2 separate regions of the Homo sapiens genome follow, and region 1 is linked to region 2. Evidence: promoter capture Hi-C in human tissues and cell types (Jung and others, 2019). All regions are on one chromosome and are shown on one strand. Each heading gives the region's core, a stretch centred on a gene start or on the middle of the fragment in contact. The rest is flanking DNA. Distances are from core to core; before and after follow the strand shown.

The links. Contacts are between HindIII fragments. The study calls those that stand out against the background at their distance.
Region 1: a fragment that was not itself captured here is called in contact with the fragment with the promoter of DBT in region 2 in 1 of the 25 tissues and cell types used here (pancreas).

The regions. Positions count from the first base shown.
Region 1 is chr1:100,394,785-100,399,634 of GRCh38, reverse strand. All of the region lies in intron 4 of CDC14A (cell division cycle 14A), which reads right to left. Among named protein-coding and RNA genes, the nearest start is that of CDC14A, 45 kb to the right of the region's middle. The HindIII fragment of the contact is 8,031 bases long and covers 1-4,850 here.
Region 2 is chr1:100,247,131-100,252,039 of GRCh38, reverse strand. DBT (dihydrolipoamide branched chain transacylase E2) reads left to right here and starts at 2,206. Exons shown (of 11, transcript NM_001918.5): 1 at 2,206-2,270. The coding sequence starts at 2,220. RefSeq lists a silencer at 1,987-2,086 and enhancers at 2,197-2,316, 1,918-2,477, 2,478-3,037. The HindIII fragment of the contact is 17,632 bases long and covers 1-4,909 here.

The sequences.
Region 1 (4,850 bases), core at 2,351-4,850, 150 kb before region 2:
CAAACAGTTAATAAATCTATAAATAAAAACATGAGAATAATCAACCTCATTAATCAAAAAAATGATTACTAAAACAATGAGGTAGCATTTTTCACCAATTAAATTTCTAAAACTGTAATGTTCATACCCAATATGCAAAGTTTACATGAAATTGGAGATTTCACATAATACCAAATTTAGTATAAACTTGCTTAAGTATAGCAATATGCTCCAAGAGTCTTAAAAACTCTGAAATTTAAAATTATTTACCCTATTTCTGGCACTCTAAAGACAAAAATCCACGAAAAGAAACACTTATAATATAGAAAGAGATGTGTTACATTATAAAAAATTTTGAAAGAAATCTAAAATGTTAAACAATGGTATTCTCTCTAAATGAAATATTATTTGGTCACCTGAATAGCAAAATGGCAAAACATACATAGGCTAAATTTTAAAAGGCTCAAAAAACTACACTGCAATCACACCTAATAAATAATTCAGGTTTAGAACTGCGAGAGAATTTTTCCACATTTCTTCTACAATGTGGTTACTCCACTTTTTAAAGTTTTTTTAATTGTAAGGGAAAAAAACACCCCTATCTTCTCATTAGATTATCCCCTTTTCAAAACGGACATTTAAAATAAAATTAAATTAAAAATTTAAAATAACTAGTTTTCTTCCAGCCTCCCTTCACTCCCCTACCACCAGAAAAAGCATCATCACCTTCATGCTATTCTCCCTGTCTGATGGTTCCTCAGCAACCTGGCCTGCTGGGATTGACCATCTTGGAACCTCCCCTCTCTCCAGGTCTGAACCCAGCCCTCCACACCCACACCAACAGGCAGGGAGTCATTCACCTTAGTATCCTCAACTCCAGGAACAAGGCCTGTTACATGAAAATACCTCAAAAAAACATTTGTTAGATAAATTCATATTTACCCAATTGTACCTATTGCCCGCTTTAAACAATTGTTTATTGCTCACCTGTCCCACATTTTAAGCTAGGCATTGTTTATATGTATATATATTTTATTCCCTAGAACCTACCATAGTGCTAGGAAGGGCTCATAGTAGCTAAACAAAGATTTACTGAACTAATGAATACCTGACTACAGATCTCACAAATTCATTTGGTTTAAACAAAATATTCCCTTAAAATAACATCCTTGGAGAGAAATATACTCCTACCTTCCAGTGAATTATACTAAGCAATAATCAGATTAACAACCATATGAGTGTTGTTACTGAGCCAAGGAAGTATTTAAGTGAAAAATATGATGGACAAGAGGAAGATGGGCAGACAGAAAGAGGGGAAGTAGCTGTCCGATCATCAGGGAGGTAGCCCAAAGGGTCTACGCACAAAAGTGAGTGATAGGAAGTAGGAGACTGGGTCAGAAAACTTTGTGGAAGGCCACACAGCTTCCCTGCCAGGGCCACCAGACATTCCTAAGTGCATACAACGTCAGACACTGCACCGATGACACCTTTATATAAATGACCTCCTTCAGTCCTCACCGCAAGTAAAATAGGGTATTATTATGCCTATTTTAAAGATGAAAAAAACAGGAGTTTGGATAAGTTAACTTGCTCAGGGCATACAACTAACAATTGGATTCAAAGCCCAGTGAGCCTGTGGCTATGTTAAAGTCATTGCTCACAACCACTAAGCCAAATGGAGAATGGCTTCTTTGCAATTAGTCACAGACTTAGCAGTAGAGTATAACTACTTAGGTCTTAAGTGTAGTCTACAAAATAAATAGCCAACACAGACATGGTTAGACAGTCTAAAAACCTCAGGCTTGTTATTCCCAATTCAGACATGACATCTGGTTCAGGCTAGTCTCAGTTAATCCACAATGTAGACCTCTAATTTAGCAATGCAAAGACTTAACAAGTGGGTAAGGAAAGTATATAATGTGGCTACCACCTCTGTTTAAGCATCCTCCACATAACAGAAAAAAAAACTGTATTTCTTTAACTCTGAACTTAATTTTCTAAGCTATACAGTCACACTTATTTTAACATCTTCTCATACATATTATTTTCCAATTCTTCAGTCACGGTGACCTGATCCAAATTCTCCTTGACCTAGGCCTGCAAAACTGAAAACAATATAGTAACACAGGTACTAGTGAAGACTTGGTCTTTAAGCACATGGCAAGAACCTAATTAATTCATACTCATAATTTTAAAAAGCCATCTTTTTCAAACTCATATCAGAGTGTTTTAGATGCTACAATGATCTAAACATCCTAACTTCAAAACTGCACTGAGTGTTGCCCTGGAAGGGAAACACCTTTCTGACAAAGCTGGTCTCTTCTTAAATCTGAGCCTTCCATCTCAAGGAGCACAATGTCACAATGCAGGGGGTGAAGAGATGCTCTACTAGTAGAGGCATCCCTAAAATGGGTGCCTAGCATCTGCTAAGTGTCACTGTGGTCTCCAGTGCCCACATCATTCCAGCAACCCTGGCTTTAAGATCACTGAACATGATGGTCTATATCAGGGTGTCTAATCATTTAGCTTCCCTGGGCCACATTGGAAGAAGAAGAATTGTCTTGGGCCACACATAAAATACACTAACACTAAGGATAGCTGATGAGCTTTAAAAAAAAAAAAAATCTCATAATGTTTTAAGAACGTTTATGAATTTGTGTTAGGCCACATTCAAAGCCAGCCGCAGGTTAAACAAGCTTGGTCTATATTTTATCTCCTTTTTGATCCTTATGACAGCTCTATGAGAGAAAGCATAAAAAGTCTCCCCCCACTTAGATATAAGGAAATAGAAACACAAAAGCTGTGAAATACTTGAAGTCATTATCTAACAGAGAAACCAAAAGTGCCACAAGATGGCACACTCAAAAGTAAGCCATGGTGTTTGTGGCACAACAGTTGAAAAGTAGTTAATGCCACTGAGCTGTACATTTTAAAATGGTTAAGACAGCAAGTTTCATGTTACGTATATTTTACCACAAAAAAATTGGGAAAATACAAGTTTATTTTTTAAAAAAAGGCTAGGTAGTGATGTAATTTTGTATACTTGTTACTACCCTTGGTCTATGCTCTTTACTTTGATTCTGTATCTTTAAAAACCAAAGTTGGCTCAGTCATGACTACAAATATTCTGGTAAAGGGGAAGACACCACTTTATACCTTACGTCCAACTTCATTATTTTCAGGAGTTTCCCATATATTACCTTCTTTCTTTCATGTTTTGTCATCCCATTATTCATTCACTCAAAAGATACTTACAGAGCACCCATTACATACCAGGCACAGCTCTAAATTGATAGTGTTCAAATACTGAAATAGTTCTATACCAGTTGGTAAATAGCTGCAGCCCACAGCACACCACTCCACTCCACACTGGCCATCCTAGTCTCTTCCTTGGGACCCACGCCCACCCCCTAGGCCCTAGACTTCCCCAAGATTCAGCAAAGCAAGAAGCCTCCAGGACCCTGTCCCAGCTTCCAACTCAACGGGTGAATACCCGGCCTAACCCCTTGTTAAATATTTTATCACCCTCCACACACAGCGACGAACAAAACAGATAAAGTCCTTACCCTCTAGTCTGGGAAAGAGATAATAAGCAAGTAAATGCATAAACAAAGTAATTTCAAATAGTAGCATGCTGTAAAGAAAATAAAGCAACAAAGGTCTAAAGGATGACTAGGGGTGGAGGTAACAGGGTAGAAATTAAGAGAAAATCTCTCTGAGAAAGTAACATTAGAAAGAGCCAGGCATGCAGAGGTCTGAAGTAAGAACATTCCAGATAGAACAGAAATATCAAGGCTCTTTGGTAGGAACAAGCATGGAATTTCAGTTAGAAGTCCAGCATGAGGGGAGCAACTTGAGCAAGGAGACCACAGAGGTAGAGAGGGTCAGATCAGAAAGGATCTTAATGGCATTGGTAAGGATAAATTTTATGCCAAGATCAGTGAGCAATAACAGATTTGAAACAGGGTAATGACGTGATCTAATTTACAATTTTAAAAGACTACTCTGACAGTTGTATGGCAACTAAATTAATGGGAAGCAAGAATATAAAAAGGAGACAACATATAAAGCTGTGGTCATAATCCAGGTGAACAATGACAGTGGCTTGGGCTAGGTGATAGCAACAGAGATGGAAAGATACATTCTGATTCAATATGTTTTAGAGGTAGAGCTGACCAAACTTACGAATAAGTAGAATGTGGGATGAGCGAACAAAAGAAATCAAAATGACTACTCTTTTGATTTAGCAAGTCACTGATGGTAGTCCACTTACTAAAAAGGGAATGACTTGGGAAATAAATACATTTAGGGAGAGAAGGAATAAAAACTTCTGTTTTGTCACAATAAATTTGAGGTATCATTTAGATGTATAATATGGAGCTATCAAACAGGCAGTTGGATATTTGATCTTTACAATAATCCTGTGAAGCAGATAAGGAAACTCAGGTATTATCCAAATTTTACAAATGAGAAAACTAAGGCTTTGAGAAAAAGGTTTGTCTTAGTACAAAATACTTTTATTAGTCAGTCAATGCCACTTAACAGAGGGCCGATTCCACATTTTAGGAACAGGAACACCTTCACTCTTAAAGACTTCTGTTTGATAAAATATACCTACCTACCTAGCTTGCCTCATGTAAGTTACATGGCTGCTCCGAAGGTAAAGGTCTTTTGTATCCAGAGAAGATTCCCCCAGAAAACGGACACTTATCCAACTAGCAACATTTAATATATGTAAATTTTAACTGAGATATATGTATAATGGATATTATTGACTATCTTACAAGACTGTCAACAAGTAAATACATACAAACAATACGAAGAAAGGCATAAAATTCTCTTTAAGGATCCACTGCCAATTTTTAGTTCCG
Region 2 (4,909 bases), core at 957-3,456:
TCTCTTGCCTCTGCAATCACTGCCCCTTCCACCTCTAGCCCCAGGCGAATTTGTTTTCTAATGCTAACCTTATTAATTAATAATACTAATATAATCTTATTATATAACTAATATAACTAAAACTAATCTGTTTTTCATCTCTATAAATCAACATTTTCTGGACATTTAATTTAAATGGAATAATGTAATATGTGATCTTTTGTGCTTGTATTCTTTTACTTAGCATAATATTTTTTTGACATTCATCCATGTCATAGCAATTATCGCTAATTCAGTCATTTTTAAGGATGAATAATATTTCAGAATATGGATGTACCACATTTTGTTTATTCACCTGTTAATGGACATCTGGGCTGTTTCTAGATTTTGGCTGTTATGCTGTTATGATTATTCCTATTCAAGTCTTTGTGTGAACACTGTTGTCATTTCTCTTATGTAGCTATCCAGGAGTGGAATTGGTGGGTCATAACTGGCCATTTTTAAATCTAAAAAAAGAGAAGAAATGGGGTCTTTGTTTCTTTCAAACTCGAATAAAAGAATTAACTAGGGAATAGATGGTGTATTTCTTTCCAGATGCTGGAATGAAAGATAAGGACACATATTATACTGAATATAGAAGCAAGAATCCATTGACATAAGAAGACGGTAAAGGAAAATAAACTAGTTATCTTCTGAGGAGCAGGTACAGTTAAAAACGAAATTAGGACAAAGAAAGTTGTATAGCAGCAGCTTGGAAGGGAGATGATTCACTTCAAAGGTACAACTGCCACTGCTTTTTATACAAACACATGCTTGTGGGATTATCAAATATATTAATAATGTCTATAAACATTTTTAAGGAAATGTAAAAACTTGAAATTCTTTTGACTACTCTAGATTTTCTGAGAAAGATAGCTATTTAGGCCGGACCCAGTGGCTCATGCCTGTAATCCTAGGACTTTGGGAGGCTGAAATGGGAAGATCGCAGTTTGAGACCAGGACTTTGAGACCAGCCTGGGCAACATAGAGAGATCCCATCTTGAACTTCTGAGCTCAAGCCATTTGCCTGCCTCAGCCTCCCAAAGTGCTGGAATTATGGGCAGGAGCCACCACGCCTGGCCCAAGAGACCCTATCTCTACCAAACAAACAAACAAACAAAAAAGATAATAAGATTTATTGTTTGCATTGATTTTTTGTGTGTAGATGTGTAATACATAAAATGGCAAATGAGGGGGAAAAGTGTTTGGGTCATATTAAACAATGAAGTTGTGAAATACCTGAGATTTTGTTTCATAACCACTAATCTTCAATGTTGAGCATTTAAAATGTATTTGTTCCAGTTTTTTTTCTCTGTAATTCCTTAGACATCTGTGCAGATTTTCATTCCCACGTAAGAAGCAATAACAGACTAATGTCATCCTGGACATTTCCAGGAATTGGTTTCCTAGTTGCTCTGAGGAAGATTGCCTTTTAAAAGAAAGCTCTGATCTGTTCTTTACCAGTTCCACTTGACCTGAATTTGACATTTCTTTAAGAGACAACTAAATCAAGATCATGTGTCTGTGACATGTATTGCATATGCTAGTTAGCTGCATCTGATAGCAGTCTGTAAAAAGAAAGATGATAACATGTTTATTTTAGACATTAGGTAATGTTCATCTTTCATGAAAAAAATTGATTAGCCAATTTTGGTAATCAAAAACATAAATGGGAGTAAAAAAGGCAGTCATTGGGAAGTACTGCTGTATGGACTTGTGAAACAACTAGTTGTCCAGAGCCTTGCTACAACGTATAGAAATATTCTATTTTCTGTATTTGGGGCGGCTACACTACAAGATGAAGACGGGGAAATGTTTTCCAACTCATCGCTCAGGTCCTACTGCAACATAACTTTCTTGAGGTAAGTACCTTTCTTTGTGTTTCCTTAACACTCTCTATTTTCCCCATCACATACACTAAAAAGATTATCTTTGGTGCATCTGTATTTACACAGCAGTGTTAAATTTGGGCTGCCCTCTGCCCCGCCTCCGTCCCCCAGGCTCTTTTCACTCCCCGCTGGGTCCCAGATCCTAGGGTTTAGCTCAGGCTCCGCCCTACTCCTTGGTTGGCTGTTGGGTGGGAGGCTCGTTTCTTCCCTCCCTATTGGTCGCCCAGGGGGAGGCGCGTTTCCCATCTCCTGATAGGCCGCGCCGAGGAGAGTCTCTCCAGTTTGCGGCACTGTTGTCATTTCCGGGGTAAGATGGCTGCAGTCCGTATGCTGAGAACCTGGAGCAGGAATGCGGGGAAGCTGGTAAGCACGTTTGGGCAGATCTGAGGCCGGGAAGGAGTGATTTGTCCGGAGTCATCCAGGAGTGGTGTTTTACTTTCTCCTCCGGTGCCAGGCGTCCAGGGCACGCGTGATGGAGAGGTGAAGGGATGCATGCAAAATAAAGGGCAGAGAACGGAGCGAGTCGACCAGTCTGGAGTGGAAACCCACTCCCTCCCCTTACCTGGAAGCGCTTCTGCAGCGACTCAGCCGTCCTGCTCCATCTGTACCCCGAGGCCCAGCTAGCGTTTTATTGAGCGCCTTCCAGGTGCCCAGGCATTGTGATAGGCGCTGTGGATCCAGAGATATATTCGTTTAGCATTTATTGCGTACCCACAGTATGCCAAACACTGGTAACACGACCCCTACCCTCAAGGAATCTACAGTGTGTAGAGGAAGAGGCCGTTCAAGTTATAGAATATCAGCAGGGGTCCCTGCTTCCGAAGAACTGAGCAGCTCGGCGTCACTCTTTTGCCTTGTACTTCTATGTCCGCACCACATATCATTCCTACCCTTTTGTCACCAAGGCTGTGACCCATCACCATCTCCCCTGCACTTCCTTCTCTTTCTCCCAGTCTTAGCACCAAGCACTGACACATACCGGTAATGATACTTGTTACCCCTATTTGCTTAGTGTTTCTTCTTCCTGCCTCTTCTCCCTTTCCCTAGATGCTCCTGCCTTGGTGACCCCGATCTTACAAAAACTTTCAAGAGCCTGCTATGTACCAGTGCTGTGTTAGGCACTGGAGATACAAATATGAAATAGACATCATATCTTCCTTCTCAAGAGATTACAACCTTGTGGTGGAGGACAAAGGAGAGGGAGACAGATAGAAATTACAACCCAGCATGAGAGGTACTGTGATGGGACAAGTGCCTAGAACTACAGGAACACACAGGAGTGGACACCTATGGTGGACTTGGGGGTCAGAGGAGTTCCCAGAGGATACTGTATGACTTGAGATGTAAGAAGGATAAGTAAGAGATAACCAGGAGAAGAGAGCTCTTCTCAGCAACACTTAACACATATTGGTCTCTCTTCTTTCTAGAGCTTTCCATTCTTGTTTTCTGTGACACCAGTTTCCCAATATTATTCTTTCTTCATCTTTGGCCACTTCATCCCAATATCCTGTTTCCCTTCCCGCCTTTTAAATATTGCTTTTTCTAAAGGGCTCTGACTTTGGCCCTCTGCACTTTTCCCACTTTCTGGGTTATCCCATCCACTCTTTGGCTTTAGTTACCATCTATGCTGATGAGTCCTAAAGTTCCCCAGTCTTCCAACCAGGTCTACTCCAAACCCATATATCCTACTGTCCTGGAAATCTCCAGTTTCATATGTACGTGATGTTTTCCAGCTGCAATTAAAAACCCAACCAATAAATAGGAAATTAAGTATCCATGCATACAGAGCATCCCCAATTAGATGTCAGCTCACATTAAGTGGCTTATGATTATCAATGTCGTCATTTCCCTAGTAGTTCATTTGTCCTTTTCCTACTGTATACAAGAGGGCTGCTACGACTTCTTCTTTTATGTTGAAGGCAGGAAGGTGGAAGAGGAGGAGGTTCCAGTCTCACTGGCCAGAACTGTGTTACATGGCCCCGGCTAGCACAAGGGAGCTTAGAAAAACTTGTCTTTTTTTTTTTTTTTTTTGAAATGGAGTCTCTCTCTGTCACCCAGGCTGGAGTACAGTGGTGCGATCTTGGCTCACTGCAACCCCTGCCTCCCAGTTTCAAGCGATTCTTTTGCCTCAGCCTCCCAAATATCTGGGACTACAGGCACACGCCACCATGCCCAGCTAATTTTTGTATTTTTAGTAGAGACGAGGTTTCACCATGATGGCCAGGCTGGTCTCAAACTCCTGACCTCAAGTGATCCGCCTGCCTTGGCCTCCCAAAGTGCTGGGATTACAGGATGAGCCACCATGCCCAGCAGAAAAGCTTGTCTTTAGTCTTCTCACAGTGTCTGCCGTAAAGCTTCAAAGCAGGTCAGACTCTCCAGCCTCTAGAACTGAACCCTCAAACCAGTTTCTCTTAATTTTTTTTTTTTTTTTTTTTGAGAAGAGTCTTGATCTGTTGCCCAGGCTGGAGTGCAGTGGTGCAATCTCGGCTTACTGCAACCTCCACCTCCTGGGTTCAAGTGATTTTCCTGCCTCAGCCTCCCAAGTAGCTGGCACTACAGGCGCGAACCACCATGCCTGGCTAATTTTTGTATTTTTAGTAGAGACGGGGTTTTGCCATGTTGGCCAGGCTGGTCTTGAATTCCTGACCTCAGGTGATCCTCCTGCCTTGGCCTCCCAAAGTGCTGGGATTACAGGCGTAAGCCACTGCCCCTGGCCCAGTTTCTCTTGATTTGAGCCTGTAATTCTCTCTGAAGAAATCTAGTCATGATTTTTCCACCCTGCCCTCAACTGGAGGTGTCTTGGCCCTTCTTAACTGGATTATATGCCTCCAGTGGTCTTGTAGTTTTTCCAACCCATTCTCCATAGTGTAGCCAGAGTGATCTTATAAAGTAAGAGACATTTGATAATATCATTTTCTTGTTTAAAACTGCCTTCAGCAAAATGTCCAAAATTCAAATGACTATGAGGCAATTTATGATCTGGACCTTTCCAGTCTCTTAGA